Linked DNA regions of Homo sapiens: all the other regions are linked to region 1. Evidence: promoter capture Hi-C in 16 types of primary human blood cells and fetal thymus (Javierre and others, 2016). All regions are on one chromosome and are shown on one strand. The core of a region is centred on a gene start or on the middle of the fragment in contact, and the rest is flanking DNA. Distances in the headings are between cores, read along the strand shown.

Region 1 (2,804 bases), core at 159-2,658:
TGGCCATCAGTCACCTCCCTTCCCGAGGTCTCCCGACGTGGACACCTAACGCCCTTGGAAAGGGAGTGAATTGGTAGGATATCATCGCTCCGGTTAGTTCCGCGGGAGCTGCCCTTCAGAAAAAAAACTTTCCAGAGCCAAAAGTTACTTTCCAAGCGCCTTGGGGCTTCCCGGGCGCCTCCCTCGGACGGCAACCCTAGAAGTCAAAGCGATTGCATCGCCAGGTCTGTGGCGGCTGGAAGCGGGGTGACCGCGGTCAGATGGCATTTCGCACCCACGCAGGGCTGTGTTATCCTAGCACAGAACCAGCAACTCTCACACGAAGCCTTGTGTAAACACCACGCGGGCCCATTCCTGAACGACTCTTTGATGCCTCCGCTGCGGTTACTTATCTCATACATAAATCAGGATTCCGCTGACAAATCTCCGTGTTTCCACTAAACAGAAGGCTGCCCTGCAGTCCTTCTCGTGCTTCTTTCTAAAGTACGATAACATCTGACACTTCCATAAACCGGCCTGCAGAGGACACCGCGCAGGGGGCGACTAACCAGCTGAGGTGTGTCACCCCAAAACACCAGTGGGCACACCCCAAGGCGGGCACGTGGAAGGGACGCGGAACCGAGGGCAACTATTTTCCAGTCGGTGAATCTGATGGAGAAAGATGCCAAATGCACTTCCCGAGCCAGCTGAACTCCTCGGGCACCTAATCATTGCCAGATGTGGCGAGGGCGCACGGAGAACATCCCCAGTCCCGGAGAAAACACCCGGCCGCCAGCGCGGGGACCGCTCGGGCCGGGAAACGGCTAGAGGCGGGAGGAGAGAGGACTGGGCGAGCGTGGGGAGCGCTGCGGCGTGGAAAAGCGACCGGGAGGGATGGCGATGCCTCCACTCTCCTCGGCAGGTTTTTTCAATTAAAAAGTTGGAAACGGGAATCCGTAAACAACGACTTAGGGCTTCAAACTACTTGCAAAGACGCGATGGGGAGGGGAATACTTGCGCGCTTCAAAACCCCAACCTCGAGGTCTCCAGCCGCGCCTGACCCGGGAGCCGGGTGCGCCCCCAGTGTCCGCGCACGAACCCGGCGCCCTGGCAGCCCCGACTCCCCGGGCCCGCAGCCCAAGGGAAGGTTCGCGCGGGAGGCACCTCCGTGGCCTCCCGCGCGCCCCGAAGCCCGTTCCCCCCGCCCAGAGCCCCGCGGAGCTGCCGCCGCCCTACCTTTCATGGTGACCGTGGGGACGCACCGCCGGCCGGGGAGCTCCGCGCGAGCGCCGCGCAGCCGAGGAAGTCGTCCCGAGCGGCTGCTCACCGCACGCCCATGGTAGCCGCGCCGCGCGCCGGCCGTCTGCGCCCCCGTCCTCCCTCGCCGCCGCCGGCCCGCGCTCCCCGCGCTCCCGGCTCCGCGCTCTGCTGCCTCGGGGCTGCCGCGCGCGCCGCTCTCGCTCTCCCAGCGCCCCTCCCCCTGGCCCGACCCGGCCGAGCGAGCGGCCGCGCCCACGCCCCTCTCGCGCCCTCCCGCGCCCGCCCCGCCCTCGGCCCGCGCCTGCCCTCGCCGGGCACTTTCTCGCCCGCCCTCTCCTGCGCGCCCTGGCCCCACTCGCGCGGGCTCTCTCTTTTTCCCGTTGCACCAGCGTCGGGATGAAGTCGGGAGCAAAGCCCTTCCCGGGGCGGTCCAGCGTTCACCTTCGGCGAGCACCTAAGGTGCCGCTGCTGCTGGGGTCGCTTCTACACCCCAAACTACCTAGCAAGTGTTGGGCGAGAGGATGGGGAGCTGCTGTGCCCCGGGGGTGGCGGGGGGTAAGGTGGGCCCTTCCCCAAACGGCTCTGGGGCATGGAGAGGTACAGAACGTCCTCCGGGTTCAGAGTTTCCAAGTGCGTGCGCTGGTTGACGCCTGAAGGAGACCAAGCAGCAGGGAACACTCTCTCTGTCACCCAGGGAGAGCCCGAGTGGCCAGAATCCGAAGTCACCATTAGACACTCTCTCTGCGCTCTTGGACACCTCCAGAGAAAAAGCCAGCACATCCTGCCTTGGCTGGAAAAGCCAGCCTTCCACCCAGCGCCCCTAAAATGATCGGGTTGACTCCAGTTTTGTTACGAAAGGAGGCCGGGCTGCTGAGAGGCTCCCTGAGTTCCCTTCGTGGTCGCCCGTCACATTGCCCTGCTGTATACTTAATAAAGCCCGTGTTTATCTTTCTCTTTAGAACCCCCTCTAAGCAGACCCATCGCTTTATTGCTTTAAAACATACACTAAGTGGTGAGTGGAGCTGGGGCGAGGGAGGTGCGGAGAAACTTTCTGCCACATGTTGACATTACAGATGGCTACTCAGACGCACTAGTCCACCAAAAGCAATCGAACACTGGCCGGGCAGTGCTTGCAGCTTTTCAGTTTGCCCTCCTGAGGACTTGGTAACACGGTGTAACCAATCCATTGGTTCCCTCTAAGTAGGGGATTCTTTGCTCTAGTAAAAGGTAGTGCCCCAAAATGAATACATATTGAAACATTTCATAGATTCTCCGTTCCAGGAGATTTCTTTTTTCTTTCTTTTTTTTTTTTTTTAATTTTTTAACATAAGGGGGCACCTTGAACATGACGAACAAATGAAAAGACCGAAATGCTTTTTCCCCCGCACTGTCTGCAGTTGATGAAACTACAGGGTCCTGGTCCTGGAGCATGTTTCAGATCTCACTGGGGCACCAGCCTTGTCTTTCAGGGCAAATGGGGATCCCTGAAGGGAGCTTAGGATATGAATTTTCAGCCCGGAGTTTACTAACCAATGGCGTGACCTCGGCTCACTGCAACCTCCACC
Region 2 (2,804 bases), core at 155-2,654, 200 kb before region 1:
ACTATGTGGAAGAGAGCTGTCAAGCAACTAGGAATATCTACCTCACACTGAATTAGGGCAAGAAGTAAACTTCTATTTGTCTTTGAACCTTATATACTATTATAAGGGTCTGTTTGTTATAGCAACTAGTATCATCCTAATTACTGCCTTCTTCTTCTAATTGATGGAACCATGATGGAAAGGGTACATACATTGCAATCACGGATGCTGTCTATTTGGATTCAAATTTTTAGGAGAGTGGGGAAGAAGCTAGAAAAATGGGATCCTTCTACATCTTGTCTTTTTATTGAAGTCAGACCCCTTTCAGATCCTCCTGATCTCACCATTGTGTCTCACCCTGGCCAGTATTTTCCCCGACCTTTCCTTCATCATTTTCTTTGTTTTTAAGGCTCCCAGACAGCAGCCTCCTCGGTTCAACCATGAATGGCATCCGCTAAAAGTGCTGACCCCTCTTTAATATCTGGGTCATGCTTTGTGTGTCTTTTTGCATTAGTGTGATGAAAAGGACTTCCTTTGGTTCCTTTCCCAAATGATCAATTGGTAATTTGTACAGTAGGTTGAAAGGTTGATCCTGCAAAAGTTCATAAATAACATGACTTATTAATCAAAGAAATTTCATAATACACAAGGCATTTACAGTTTCTTTTAAAATAAGATTTGTGATTATTTTTGGAAAATGTTTTAAAATTCCAGATTAAGTGCACATTTACTTCTTTTTTTTTCTTTTCATACCTTTTATTTTTATTCTAGATTCAGGGAGCACATGTGCAGGTTTGTTACAAGGGTATATTGCATGATGCTGAGGTTTGGGCTTCGTTGATCCCATCACCCAGCTAGTGAACACACCACAGTACCCAATAGAAGAATTTTAAGTCCTTCCCCCTACACCTTTACTAAATGGCAAGAACAGGTAGTGGTTTCCCATACTGTTTTATCACCATCCTCCTGGCTAACTTCTTATGACATGGACAGGCACCCATGTAGCAAATCTGCATCTGCACCTAGACAGGCCTGTGCAGAGTAGACTTATGTGAACATTGGTTTGGAGGGTACTACTGTGATTCAGGACAGCTCAGGGAGGCCCGGCATGGTCAGTTCCAGCATGGCCCTGCTCCAGGCTGTCTGGAGGCCTCCCTAAAGGAAGGTGTGGGTGGTGTCCAGTTCTCTTCTTTCTCCAGGACACAGCCAGTTTGCAACCCTGGCTCAAGAGGTGTAATAACACAACTAAAAGAAAATCATAGGCTCATTTTTACCTGGAGTTGCCAACTGTCCTGGATTGACTGTTCTCATCTCATAAGCAAGCCTGAATTTCAGAAATATAAGAACTTCGGAAACATTGCAAGTTCTCTCTCTCTCTCTCTCTCTCTCTCTCTCCCCCAAGCCCCTAAACCAAAAGAAGGCAATACTTCTTAAGTTGCTATATGCAGATTCAAGTACCTATATTGATAATATTTGCTATCAGGACTTCATTTTACATTTTAAAATAATATGCCACCTCTGAAAAAAATTATTGTTTTGGCAGGTTTTCAGGAAACAAATGCTCACCATGTGAGATTTTAGAAAAAAGGAAGGGAAATTAGTCACTCAATACTTTGAAGCATCCAGCAACTTCTAAATCCCTGGAAAAATCAACACAAGGCAGACCTCTTGCAGATTTCTTAACTTTTCTCTTCTCCTAGGAGATGCCAGTGTCTCAGCTGGCTGGAACACAATTTGTGAGCCAGGATTGGCCCAATCCAAATTGTGGTTTTTCATTCTTCTATAGCAGTGGCTTCCAAATGGGCAATAACAGCCACAGCCTAAAGTGTGCACCTGAAAACTAGGCAGAGTGGGATCTGGCACTATAGGCATTTTTTCTGATCTGCTCCATAGAGGGTGTCATGTTCTGGCCAGTCACTAGAGTAGGAGTGACCACCCACTGGGCAAAGAGCTTATGGGAGAAACTATGGATTCCACAGCCTCGCATTACTCCCAGGGTAAGTTGCCAAGGAAACGCACAAACTTAAGTACCAAAGAGTCTCACATCACATATCTGCCCTGAACTTACCACGGCAGGAGAATTAACCAGCTACCTACCACTTACCAGCAGGGTGAAAGAGAAAGATCACAGGGTCTTGGTGCTTGCTGAAAATGGACTGCTGCTACAATATAGTCCCTCTTGGGGTGGCCCTAAGGAACATGGGCAGAAATGTAAGCTGTACACTTGGTGGTTCACTTTATAAACAGGGAGAAATGGCCTGAGAACAGATTGGCATGGACTCTGGGGCAAGGATGAATGGCTTGGCTGCTTAAGTGGTCAGGGCCCAGAAGGAACCAGATAGGAAGGTCCGTGAAAAGAAAATGTAAGGGAGAAGCATGAGGATGAACCTACAGTTGCAGACACAAAGTATGTGTATCTTTGTAACTTAGATTAAATTAATGCCCACCAGGGAGCTCCCACTATAGAGGAAGCTCTGAACAATAAAGTGGACAGGATGTCTCCTTTTGTGGATGTGGACAGCTAATGCTGAGCCTTCACCATGACACCATTTCTTAAGGAGACCAGACCAGCCACTTGGTAGCAGATTGATTTCAATTTCACTTTGTCTTTATCAGAATCGATTACCTATGCTGCCCATATGTCTCGGTTAGCACCCATCCCAGCACTTACAGAATACCCGATTGTAGCAATGGGCACATGGTCATGAGATCCACTGCTCTTATCAGTTATTGGATCAACTGGAAGTAGCTAGTCTAACAGGAGAGTGGAAAGATTATTTGAAGGCTCAGGTAGGGTGCTAGCTTTGGGGCAATAGCCTGTAGGA
Region 3 (2,804 bases), core at 229-2,728, 190 kb before region 1:
TCTGTGCCATTTCTCTTGTGCCACTTTCCTCTCATATCTCAGTAAGCGGGATCTGGAGCTGCCTAGTGGGGCTGAATCCAGCCAACCTGTCCCACATCCTTCTGACCTTCAGTCCCTTTTACTTGGCCTTTCAGAGTTTGGTCAAGGTGCCAGGAGAGATGCTTCCAGTATGATTTGTGGGGAATCAAAATGACATATTCCTACAGACCATGAGGAGGGGGAAGAAGCTATGGAGAAACTGCTTATGGTGAGGACCAAGTCCCCCCATTCATTCATTCATGCATCCCTGCATCCATCCATCCATTCATCCATGGATCCATCCATCCATCCATCTATGCATTCATTCATCCATGCATCCATCCATCCTTCCCTCCATCCATCCATCCTTCTATCCTTCATTGGCCCCTATTCTATGCCTTATAATAAAGGGAGAACAAAAATTCCTTGATTTGAGAGATATTTAAATTTGTTTTATTCATTTTGGGTAGATTAGATTTATATCCATACAAAGTTGAAGACTAGTGTACTGCATCAACATTTTCAAACTCTTTAGAAACAGTGAACCTGAAGTGAAATCACACATATGACATACATATGTAGTCCTTCTGACTAGTGATCCAGAATTCCACCTGCTCTGCAAATACTCTCCTCCCATTCACTGTGGCACCTTCACAGTCTTCCCAGGGCCCCCTGAGCAATTCAGAGACTGCTGTACTTTTGTATGAAACAAAGCCTTGATGGTGTGGTGCAGGCAGTGGATCTTAGGAGAGGCTTGCTGGGAGATGGAGAATATGGAGGAAGGGGGGGATATGGGCTGTGCCCTGAAAGGGGACTCATGTTTGCACCCATGAAAAGAAGGGGATGCATTATGTGGTAAAGTGCAGGCCAGGAATAGGATGAGCAGAGGCCCTCAAGCCATGAAAGTGGGTGCGGTCAAGAGGTGGGGGTGTTAATCAGGTTTCCACAAGAAAAAGATGGCACACTCAGGCTGGGTAATTGAGGAGAGTTTAATAAAGGGGCAATTGACAAAGATGTGGGCAGGCCTTAGGGAAAACAACAAAGGATAGTGCAGGATCTTTGGCTAATGGCAGCTGAGAGTATCACTAGGGGCAAGAGGAGGTTGCTACTCCTGGAGCTGGACAGAGAGCCGGACGAGGCTGGTGTGGTGGCTCGCACTTGTAATCCAAGCACTTTGGGAGGCCAAGATGGGCAGATTGCTTGAGCCCACGAGTTCGAGATCAGCCTGGGCAAAATGGTAAAACCCTGCCTCTAAAAAAATATAAAAATTAACCAGGCATGGTCGTGAGCGCCTGTAGTCCCAGCTACTTGAGAGGTTGAGGTGGGAGGATACCTTGAGTGCAACAGGTCGAGGTTACAGTGAATCGAGATCATGCCACCACACTCCAGCCTGGGCATGCAGTGGCACTGGCAGGAGAGAGTGCTGGACCAACTGATGGGAGATATGGCCTTTGGCAGAGAGATAAAATCTATTCCTGGTGACCTTCAGAGAGGAAACCAGGGAAATAAACACCTCAACTTCACTTTCTCCTGCCAGTGCCTCTCATTGTCCAAACACAACTGGTTGCCAGAAGCCAAGGGAACCTGTAAATATCTATCTCCCTGAAGCCCAGAGAATGGTGGAAAAGTGTGGAGATGGGATCTGAAGGGACAAATAGAAAAGAGCCACATAGACAGCTGCTAGGTTAGGGCCCAAGGACCCGTATGTTAGCTGTTGCCCCAATGATGCTGTGTAATGAACAACCCAAATCTCCATGGGATATATATATATACAGCATTAAGCATTTATTCTCACAGTCTGGGTTGACTGATCTCAGCTGGGCTTGGTGGGACTGCTTTGCTGCAGGCTCTGAAGGTTGGGCTGGCTCTGCTTCTCATCACAGGTCTGTTTGGCTGGGGCAGCTTTGTTCCAGGTGTGTTCACTCTAGGGCCCTGGCCACAGGAACAGAGGCGAAGGCCAGGGGAACTCTGCACGGTGATGGCAGATATGCAAGAGGGCAAGCCCAGTGACCCTGGTGCTTTCCAAGGCTTTGGCTGTATCACATCCACCAACATTGGCCAAAGCAAGGCGCGTGACTGAGCCCAAGTCAAAGGGCAGGAAAGTACACTCCTCCCATAGAGAGGGGGAGCTGCCAGGTTACATGGCAAAGAGGGTAGATATGGGGAGCTGTGAAGAATGGAGCCAGTAATTAAATCCACTGAAGTCTCCACAGGAGGGCAAGGTGGAAAATCTGTCCCATAGGAGGCGGATTCAGGAGGGCAGCTGTGAATGGTGCAAATGCCATTTATGCTCCTCTCCACCCATATCCATTCTTCCTTCCTTGCATAGGCATGGAATTTTTAGCTTGGCATCTAACTGTAATTCCCAGCTAAAGACTGTATTTCTCAGCCTCCCTTGCAACTAGGTGAGGCTATGTGACTACGTTCTGGTTAAAGAGATGTGAGTGGAAATGACGAATGCAAATTCTGCCCTTAAAGGGAGAAATTTCATTTCATCACCCCTCTCTTAAGCCCACTGCCTGGACTGTGGATGTGGTGCTGAGCCCTTTTGGACAATGCAAACGAGGGCACTGGCTGAGAGACTGCAGGACAACGAGATAGTCACAGTGCGGCTCCCTGGGCTAGTTGCATACGTAAAATTAGGGCCAGGGAGAGATGCATCTATCTTATTCACCTGCTATCACTTTGGGTCTTTATTTCAGCAGCCAAATCTATATTTAATACAAATTGATAGGAACTTCTACACTCATACCCAAAGAAGAGATGACACACAAAGAGGTACGACT
Region 4 (2,804 bases), core at 212-2,711, 150 kb after region 1:
ATATTTAGAACCCTCTTCTGGAACTTTCTTCTAGTTATCTAGCATCCTAAGTGCCTGGACGTTCCTGATTGGTTTGCAATGTGTTTTATTTCCCATCCCCAAGTTTCATAGCTGCCGGCCCTGGGATCTACAGTCACAGGCTGTAACACAATATCTTGCACATCCTGAGTCTTTAATAAGCTTTTGTAGATGGGCTCTTACCATCATCATCATCGTGAAAGGCAAATATACAAAATTTGTTGACTAATGTAATGAGTCATGAGTAACAGAAGTTTACTGACCAAACACTACGTGCATGTAGAGTTCAGAATAAACACTTTATTATCACATCAGAGGAAAAGACCATCTTAGAGGCTCAACAACCCAGGAAAGCTGTGACGATTTCTTCAAATTGTTAAGAATATCCATGCATATGGGTTTCACATTATTTTGCTACATACAGTACCAATTTTTCCAAAAGCCAACAGCAGGTATTCTATTACCCATCCTGGACTTTTACTCCAAGAAAAAATACACTGAGTCTGTGAGTAATTTATTAGTATTTTGATCATTGCTGCCTTTTTTTTTTTTTTTAAGGTAAGAAGATCTAATGCATCCTATATCCAGTAAGTAGAATTATCTCTTCATCTGGGACCTGGAAATCCTGAAATAAAAAAGGATAATGCAATAAACACAGTTGCAGGAAAGTATGTTAGCTATATACTATGAAGTACTCTTAGTTTACTTATGTTGAATGGCTTAGCTATTAATACTCAAATTGAGTTAAAATGAAAATTCCTCCTTAAAAAATCAAACGTAATATGTATTACATTTCATGGTACATTAGTAGTTCTTTGTATATTGAATAAATACTAAATCACCTAGGTGTCTATGTTCTATCACATCTACAAACATGTCACTTCCTAATTAACAAAATGTTCTTCCTTTAGTTTGCTTTTGCACTTAAAATATATATAATTGACTTTTTTGGAAAAAAATCTAAGATTCATTGCTTTGTTTTGTAAAGACCAATAGGTTCTGTATAGTCTTTTTTTAAATTGTGGTAAAATACACATGGCATTAATTTACCATTTTAACCATTTTAAAGTGCACAATTTGTGGCATTAAGTACACTCACGTTGCTGTGCAACCATCACCACCGTCCATCTTCAGAACCTTTTTATCTTCCTAAACTGAAACTCTGTACTCGTTAAGCACTCACTTCCCTTTTCCCCATCCCCCAGCCCGTAGCAACCACGACTGTACTTTCTATGAATTTGACTACTCTAGGTACTGCATGTAGGTGGAATCATACAGTATTTGTCTTTTGCTTTGTTTTGTTTTGTTTTTTGTTTTCTAAGACAGGGTCTCACTCTGTCGCCCAGGCTGGAGTGCAGTGGTGCAATCACAGTGTCCTTTTGTGACTGGTTTATTTCACTTAGTGCCATGTTTTCAAGGTTCATCCATGTTGTTGCATGTCTCAGAACTTCCTTTTTTAGGCTAATATTCTTGCATGTATTTACCTAGTTTTGCTTATCCATTCAGCCATTGATGGACACTTGGGTTGCTTCCATCTTTTGGCTATTGTGAATAATGCTGTTTTGAACGTGGGTGTGCTACATAGTTACTTTTTAAAATTGGCACAACAGCGCTGTCTTTTGACATACGTATTTTATGGAAAACACAAGATTTTCCTGGCTGACGCTCAACCTCATAATTTGGACCTTGGTGCAACACAATAATAGGAGAGCTATGTGTCAGTATATATCACTAAGGATTACAATGAGAGTATATACAGTCAGTATTACAAATTATAAAAAGAAATGTAGGCCAGGCACGGTGCCTCACACCTGTAATCCCAGCACTTTGGGAGGCCAAGGTGGGTGGATTACCTGAGGACAGGAGTTCGAAACCAGCCTGGCCAACATGGTGAAAACCTGTATCTACTAAAAATACAAAAATTGGCCAGGTGTGGTGGCGCATGCCTGTAATCCCAGCTACTCAGGAGGCTGAGATGGGAGAATTGCTTGAACCTGGGAGGCAGAGGTTGCACTGAGCCAAGATTGTGCCACTGTACTCCAGCCTGGGCAACAGAGCGAGACTCTTTTTTAATAAATAAATAAATAAATAAATATATAAAAGAAACGTAATGAAAGAGAGAGAACTCTGAACTTTTAAAGAACTTTTCACCCAGTCTTGATCTATCTGACAGAAAGGCTTGTCAGAGAAAGTTAGAGTTCAGAGGCAGCCAATTGAATATAATTAACTCCAAATGAAGATAAACCTTTTCTAAATCATAACTGAAGGCTATAAAAAATGAGAATTATGTTATTTTTTTTTTGAGACAGGGTCTTACTCTATTGCCCAGGCTGGAGTGCAGTGGCATGATCTGGGCTCACTGAAGCCTGACCTCCTTGGCTCAGGTGATCCTCCCACCTCAGCCTCCTGAGTAGCTGGGACTACAGGTACTACCATGCCCGTCTATTTTTGTATTTTTTTAGTAGAGATGGGGTTTCTCCATGTTGTCCAGGCTGGTCTCAAACTCCCAGGCTCAAGCAATCTGCCCGCCTCAGCCTCCAAAAGTGCTGTAATTACAGGCATGAGCCACTGCTCCTGGCAGGGAACTAATAGAATCCTGGGTTCTTCGGTGTGCAATAAATCTCAAATACAGTCTATTCAACCATAGATTTTAAATATTTGTTAGTGAAGGTGACAAAAAAATAAGTGATTAAGAGAACCTATTTTCTATCCAATGAGCTATCAAAAGCTTATAGAGTGGAAAGAGAGTGGGGGAAGTGAGGCTCAAAACAGCTAAATGGAAAGAA
Region 5 (2,804 bases), core at 87-2,586, 150 kb before region 1:
GAGAGATGCAGTTCTAATAATCTGTACCTTAGGGTTGCTTCATAGGTACACATACTCCTAAATCCCTGGAAACTCTCAAGAATAAAATGTTGCATATGTGTTTTTAGCAAAGCTAATTTTTAAGAACTAAAATACAGAATGTTTACAGGTTTAGGTTCAGTTTTGATCCTCAAATCAAAACATATGCCTCGGTCTGTCCTCAAACCACATGCAGGATCTCAAGTCCTGCCCTTCTTTCCTGGAAGCCAAAGAAACCTTCAAATATGCTGACAGTCAGTCATTTTCTACCCTTTCTACTTTTTCTTCCATTTTAGTTTTGAAAAACAGAGAACTGTCATGGACAGATAACTCAGGTTTGTGTAGAATAAATACAAAAGGGATAAATACATTCATTAAAAAAAAGAACAAAAAAAATCTGTCGACGTTTTCTTCTGTGCAGCAAAAGGAAACTATTTTCCCTGCCCACAAGTGCTAATGAACAGTTTACATGCACTGGGGGGTGTGTGTCTTTGTTTAACAATAGGATCTGGTATAAAGCTGGAAATGTTAGGATTGCAATGCTGGAACCTGCTACTGCATAAAAATACCAGACTGGTGGAGATCCAGAACTTACCCTTGCTGTAACAGCACACAGCACTTTCATTGACTTTTATTCTGAATTTATTAGCACCAATTCTCAATCAGGAATACAGTCGCAGAGCCATCCTGTATTACCCTGGAAATTCCCAGTCTATAGACATAGACCTCAGTTTGCAGACCATTCTCACATGAGAAAAATGAGCAGGATACACAGAAGGGTGACCAGCAGTCTGGTTTCTCATAGGCTCTCCTGTATTGGGAATTGTTTCTTAAGGTAGAATTTTTCTACAGAATATTGGTGTTTCAGGTATTATACCTGAAGATCTGTCCCTCTTCAAGTATCCAAAGTATAATTCTCTAGGATACTCTGACAATAAAACCTTTTTTATAAAAGCACTTCGGTATCATCCCTTGGCCTGGGCCACTAACTTCTTCTTCCCTCGTCTTGACTCCACTTCTCCTTGAAGGTCCGCTCCACACCTCACTACCCCATTGTACTCAGCCACACCTACAAGTTGATTCCACTGCACACCAACTCGATCTTTATTTGAATGATAATAATAATAGCCTCTATTTATCGAGTGCCTGCTCTTTGCCGGATGCACTACACCATCACTGCAGTTAATCCTTCCAACTGCTGTTTTGTAGATGAAGAGATTGAGGCTCACAGATGTTCAGTAACTTGCTAAAAAGTCACACAGCTTGTCAGTGACTATGTGGGATACCAGGCTGGAAGGTTTAACTCCAAAATCCATGCTCTTTCTATGACTCCGTATCACCTCTCTTTTGGTATTTCTTTTTCCTAAATCTGGTTTCCTCCAATAAAGAATCCCTTAAGGGGAAGAATTATTTCTGTTTATATTCTCTTTAAAGTTAACATCACCAGACATTTACCAAGTATCTGCCATGTAGGTGGCATAGTGCTAGACATTGAGGATTCAAGAGACACAGGCCATGGTCTCGGCCCTGAGGACAGAGCACAGAGCTCCTAGCTGGTGCTCACACGTTTTTGTACCAGACTGATCATGGCACTGTGGGATAAATACTTCCTCTCTCTGGGACCTGGGGCTTCCCAGTAACATTAGTTACACTCCTCTGGAATTTAATAAAGGCATTTCTACCTTGAACACCATTTTAGGTTTCCTTACAGAAATACAGAAAATCTGATTGTAGGGTGTTATCCTGGATCCTAAAGCGCTCTCCAGTGTGATTTGATGTGTATTTTGAAAGCCTAAATAGTAATCCAGTTGTAAACTGCTACACTGACCCAGCTTAGCAGCAAAGTAGACTACCAGTGACTAGGAATGTTGAATTAAAGGAGATCCTTATTGAGAAAGATTCAGATTTCTGTCTTTTTTCTTTTTCCTAATTACCTTTAGAAGGTTGCCTGTTGGAAAGGATAATGGAGTAGGATTTTCCTGTTCAGGAAATATTCTGGAAGAAACATGACACATTGAACTTAAGAGATGACTCCTGCTATGGAAGCTCTGTTGACTAATGATAAAAAGCCCGGGGCAGAGGATGTACCAAGCTCAACTGTCCAAGAACATGTTTTCTGCAAAGTGGCTGATACGCCTCACAGTCACGACCACTGCACAGACCCTGTCTGGGTGACTGAGCGATTCTCTGGCTTCTTCAGCAAATTCTCTTGATGGAAGCTCATTGTATTCTAACTTGTGGCTATGTAAGTGACATGAAAGAAGAAAAGAACAATTTTGAGCAAAACAGTATGAAGTTGCCTTTGCCAGCTCTGATAAATAAAAGTTTTTACTCCTTTCCTTTCGATTTCTCCTTCAGAGGAATGCCTTATTGTGTTTCTTTCATTGAATATTCTTTTCTTTCTTTCTTTTGTAACGGAGAGAGTTTCTCTAGACTTCAAAGGGGGAATGTGTGAAGGGAGAACTGGGTTTTATCTTTCTGCCTCTTACAACATTGGGTCACTAGAATCTTACCAGCAAGAAAGAGGAGTCACTGTGTGAGTAAAGAGAAAGCACATCTGGAAAATATCAACATTTTAGTTCATTAATGGTGTGTTTGGAAAGCAAAAGTGCATGTTGTATTATCTTTTTTTTGGTCAGTGGAGGCCTGAAGGAGGGGGGCACTGAAGGAAAGAAAAGAGGGGCAAGACATCATCTCGTTTCCCCTTGTACTTGCTCCCCATTATCTCTTCTTCCTTCATCTTGGTGAGACTGCCCCCACAGAGCAGGCCAAGCCAATCTCCAAAA
Region 6 (2,804 bases), core at 175-2,674, 130 kb before region 1:
ATTCAAAAATCACAATTTCCCATGGGTTTATCATGGGCGTGACTGGAGCCAGCTTATACTGACTGGTGACCCCCAATTGTTGTTATCTCTTCACAACTCTATGTTCAGTGACTTTATATTGGTAGCATGAAATTGGTCATGCTGGAAGTATTCACACCATTGAAATCAGCAAAAAGCTCCAAATCAGGGCTTTTGCCTTCTGGAGAGCCGGCTGTTAAACATTTGCCAGCATTCCACTCAGCGCCCTTACCATTTGCCAGCCTACCACTCAATGCACATACCACTTAATGCAACTGATCCATTGCATTTAAACAAGTAAAGAGCACATACCACTTAATGCAACTGATCCATTGCATTTAAACAAGTAAAGAACTAATCTGTCCATATAGACTAATTACTTGAGAAGTTCAGGATCACTGGCACCACCAAGCTTGGACATGAAGCATCGTTCCTTTCCTTCCCCGGAGGTGATACAGATCTTTTTTTTTTTATTTTTTTTTATTTTTATTTTTATTTTTATTTTTATTTTTTTTTGGAATAATGTTTTTTTTTTTTATTATACTTTAAGTTTTAGGGTACATGTGCACATTGTGCAGGTTAGTTACATATGTATACATGTGCCATGCTGGTGCGCTGCACCCACTAACGTGTCATCTAGCATTAGGTATATCTCCCAATGCTATGTGCCCTCTTACTAGTGATATTTTACACATTAAATGTTTTGAATTCAAAATTTCCATGGAAACAAGGTAAATTTCAAATTTACAATCTCTGTGGCGTGATTATAATTTTAGGTTCCTAGTGAAACTGAGAATGTTTAAGGTTCAATTCCCACATGTCTGTTAATTTCACCCCACGGATACAGGCTGACTTAACTCTGACCAACCACCCTGAACGTGCACTTCCTTCTCACGTGGAAATGAGGTGGCATAGCAAAGTCAAGATGTGGAGCCCTGGTGAATCAGCCTAGGACAGGCAGCTATGGAGGACACATTTGGATTCAGATGGAGGAATCACCACCGAGGAAAGGATTATGAAGAGCAACCCCGATCTGGAAGATATTCTGTTTACCTCTCAAAATCATGCAGGGATTAAAACCCGACCTACAAGGCAGAAAAAAATACAAGAGTTCAGAGGAAAGCAACACTTCATTACATTCATGAGATGCATAAATGACTGTAAAAGCAGCAGACTCAGAAATCAAAATAGGAAAAAATCAGATTCTACCAGCTGAGCCATTCACAGTGCAGGCAGAAGGCCTTTTGAACTTCAGCTCTTACAGCAGAGAATCAGAAAATGTGACCAGGAGCACACCAGCTCTGGAAACAAGTGAATAATGGAGATCAGAGATGCAGAAAATACATATATAATTTCATATGATATGAAATTTTTATGGTATAATCACTTCATTGTATTTCATGCCCAAAGAAACGAATTTTATTTCCCCGATGGCCAAACAGCTCCTAATTACAGTTGTAAACTGGTTAAACGGGCTTAAAGAAGAAGCGGCTTTGGGTGAGGACTTAACAACACTGTCCAATCCGCACTTTGCTGAAGGTGTTCCCCACTTCCCCGGTGAATATGGAATTTGGAATTAGTACCAGAATCACCCACTAGGGATTCACTCATACATTTTATTTTTAATTTGCAGCATATATTTGTTTACATAAACTCCCAGTACACTGCATGCGGTTTAGAACACACTGTGAGTTCATTGCTTATTATTCTTTAAAACAGCCTGTGGTAAGAGAGACCCTTCCATTAAGAAGAGATACTTGTCTTGAGAGGTCCACCACACAACGGGATCCCAGGGATGGTCTCAGCTTGATGGATCTAGGAGGCATACCCCTTCTAAATGGTGCCTAGCCAGAGCTCTTCCTGCCTGGGGCAGCCAGGCCTCTCAACCCTACTCTGGAAAAGCAACTAGAAGCTCAGGTCCTGCTGATGATGGACTAGGAATGCCATTTTTGCATCTTTGTCATGCACCAAGACAGGGCTCATTCATCACCTTCCCATTATGCACAGACCTGAAGAGGAACTGAAAAAGAAGGATTCAGTGATTCAGAAAATGTTCGTTCCTAAATGAAGAATACAATGAAGTCTGGACTTCACAGCCCTCACTACTATGCAATGTTCCTTCCTGCTGGAAAGCAGTTATGTTATTGCAGCAAAGCTGGTCAAGACAGCCAACCACCTGTAAATACAACCTACTGGTTGCCCTGAAACAATCTGTCACTTTCTACAGTACTTGGGGGAAACAACACCTAATAAACAACACCTAGTAAAGCAAAAGAACATATACTACAGTCAAAGGAAAAATCTCATGTAGAACTGTGGTAATGACAGTGCTTATAAAATTAGAAGCACTCATTTACTAGGGTATACAGAGCCCCAGATGATGGTGTGATTATATGTTTACTAAGCTTTATCCAGAGGACTACTGCATAGAAGTCAATCTTCTTGACTTTGAGCCCGTGGAAGATCCATCTGTTTCTACTCCTGCTCACTTCCCAGACACGCCGCAACTGGGCACAAATCACGGAAGAGAAATGTTTATCCAAGTGGAGCTGGAAAAGCCAGGACTCCAGGAGGGCCCTGGGGTGCAGGGAGGACCCCTTCTTTCAAAGGTTTCTGCTGCACAGGCCTAGGGTAGGATGGAAAGGATCACAGAGTAGGGGATAGAAACAATTTTTTTTTAAAGAAAGAGAAGAAAATCTTCTGATTATCTAGACAGAACAGGAGAAAGGGGAGCTGCGGCAACAGGGAAATGAAAATAAGCAGTAACAGGCCTTGTGACAGTTGAT

The links. The method cuts DNA at HindIII sites, captures the fragments that hold promoters and counts their contacts. A CHiCAGO score of 5 or more calls a contact.
Region 2: a fragment that was not itself captured here is called in contact with the fragment with the promoter of COLEC12 in region 1 in 5 of 17 cell types (M2 macrophages, M1 macrophages, M0 macrophages and 2 more); the score reaches 21.6 in M2 macrophages.
Region 3: a contact is called between a fragment that was not itself captured here and the fragment with the promoter of COLEC12 in region 1, in 5 of 17 cell types (M2 macrophages, M0 macrophages, M1 macrophages and 2 more). The highest score is 24.1, in M2 macrophages.
Region 4: a fragment that was not itself captured here is called in contact with the fragment with the promoter of COLEC12 in region 1 in 1 of 17 cell types (M2 macrophages); the score reaches 6.0 in M2 macrophages.
Region 5: a contact is called between a fragment that was not itself captured here and the fragment with the promoter of COLEC12 in region 1, in 5 of 17 cell types (M1 macrophages, M2 macrophages, monocytes and 2 more). The highest score is 13.2, in M1 macrophages.
Region 6: a fragment that was not itself captured here is called in contact with the fragment with the promoter of COLEC12 in region 1 in 5 of 17 cell types (monocytes, M1 macrophages, M0 macrophages and 2 more); the score reaches 15.3 in monocytes.

The regions. Positions count from the first base shown.
Region 1 is chr18:499,293-502,096 of GRCh38, forward strand. It overlaps COLEC12 (collectin subfamily member 12), which reads right to left and starts at 1,409. Exons shown (of 10, transcript NM_130386.3): 1 at 1,216-1,409. The coding sequence starts at 1,222. The HindIII fragment of the contact is 13,067 bases long and covers 1-2,804 here.
Region 2 is chr18:294,348-297,151 of GRCh38, forward strand. No RefSeq gene overlaps it. Among named protein-coding and RNA genes, the nearest start is that of THOC1, 28 kb to the left of the region's middle. The HindIII fragment of the contact is 3,078 bases long and covers 1-2,804 here.
Region 3 is chr18:310,431-313,234 of GRCh38, forward strand. No RefSeq gene overlaps it. Among named protein-coding and RNA genes, the nearest start is that of THOC1, 44 kb to the left of the region's middle. The HindIII fragment of the contact is 5,054 bases long and covers 1-2,804 here.
Region 4 is chr18:649,322-652,125 of GRCh38, forward strand. CLUL1 (clusterin like 1) reads left to right here. Exons shown (of 10, transcript NM_001393344.1): 10 at 577-861. The coding sequence ends at 580. It overlaps TYMSOS (TYMS opposite strand RNA), which reads right to left. Exons shown (of 2, transcript NR_171001.1): 2 at 299-643. Among named protein-coding and RNA genes, the nearest start is that of TYMS, 6.9 kb to the right of the region's middle. The HindIII fragment of the contact is 2,566 bases long and covers 179-2,744 here.
Region 5 is chr18:352,113-354,916 of GRCh38, forward strand. All of the region lies in intron 3 of COLEC12 (collectin subfamily member 12), which reads right to left. Among named protein-coding and RNA genes, the nearest start is that of THOC1, 85 kb to the left of the region's middle. The HindIII fragment of the contact is 4,508 bases long and covers 1-2,804 here.
Region 6 is chr18:368,907-371,710 of GRCh38, forward strand. The region is part of intron 2 of COLEC12 (collectin subfamily member 12); the gene reads right to left. LOC107985155 (a long non-coding RNA gene) reads left to right here and starts at 485. Exons shown (of 2, transcript XR_007066264.1): 1 at 485-2,804. The HindIII fragment of the contact is 1,993 bases long and covers 429-2,421 here.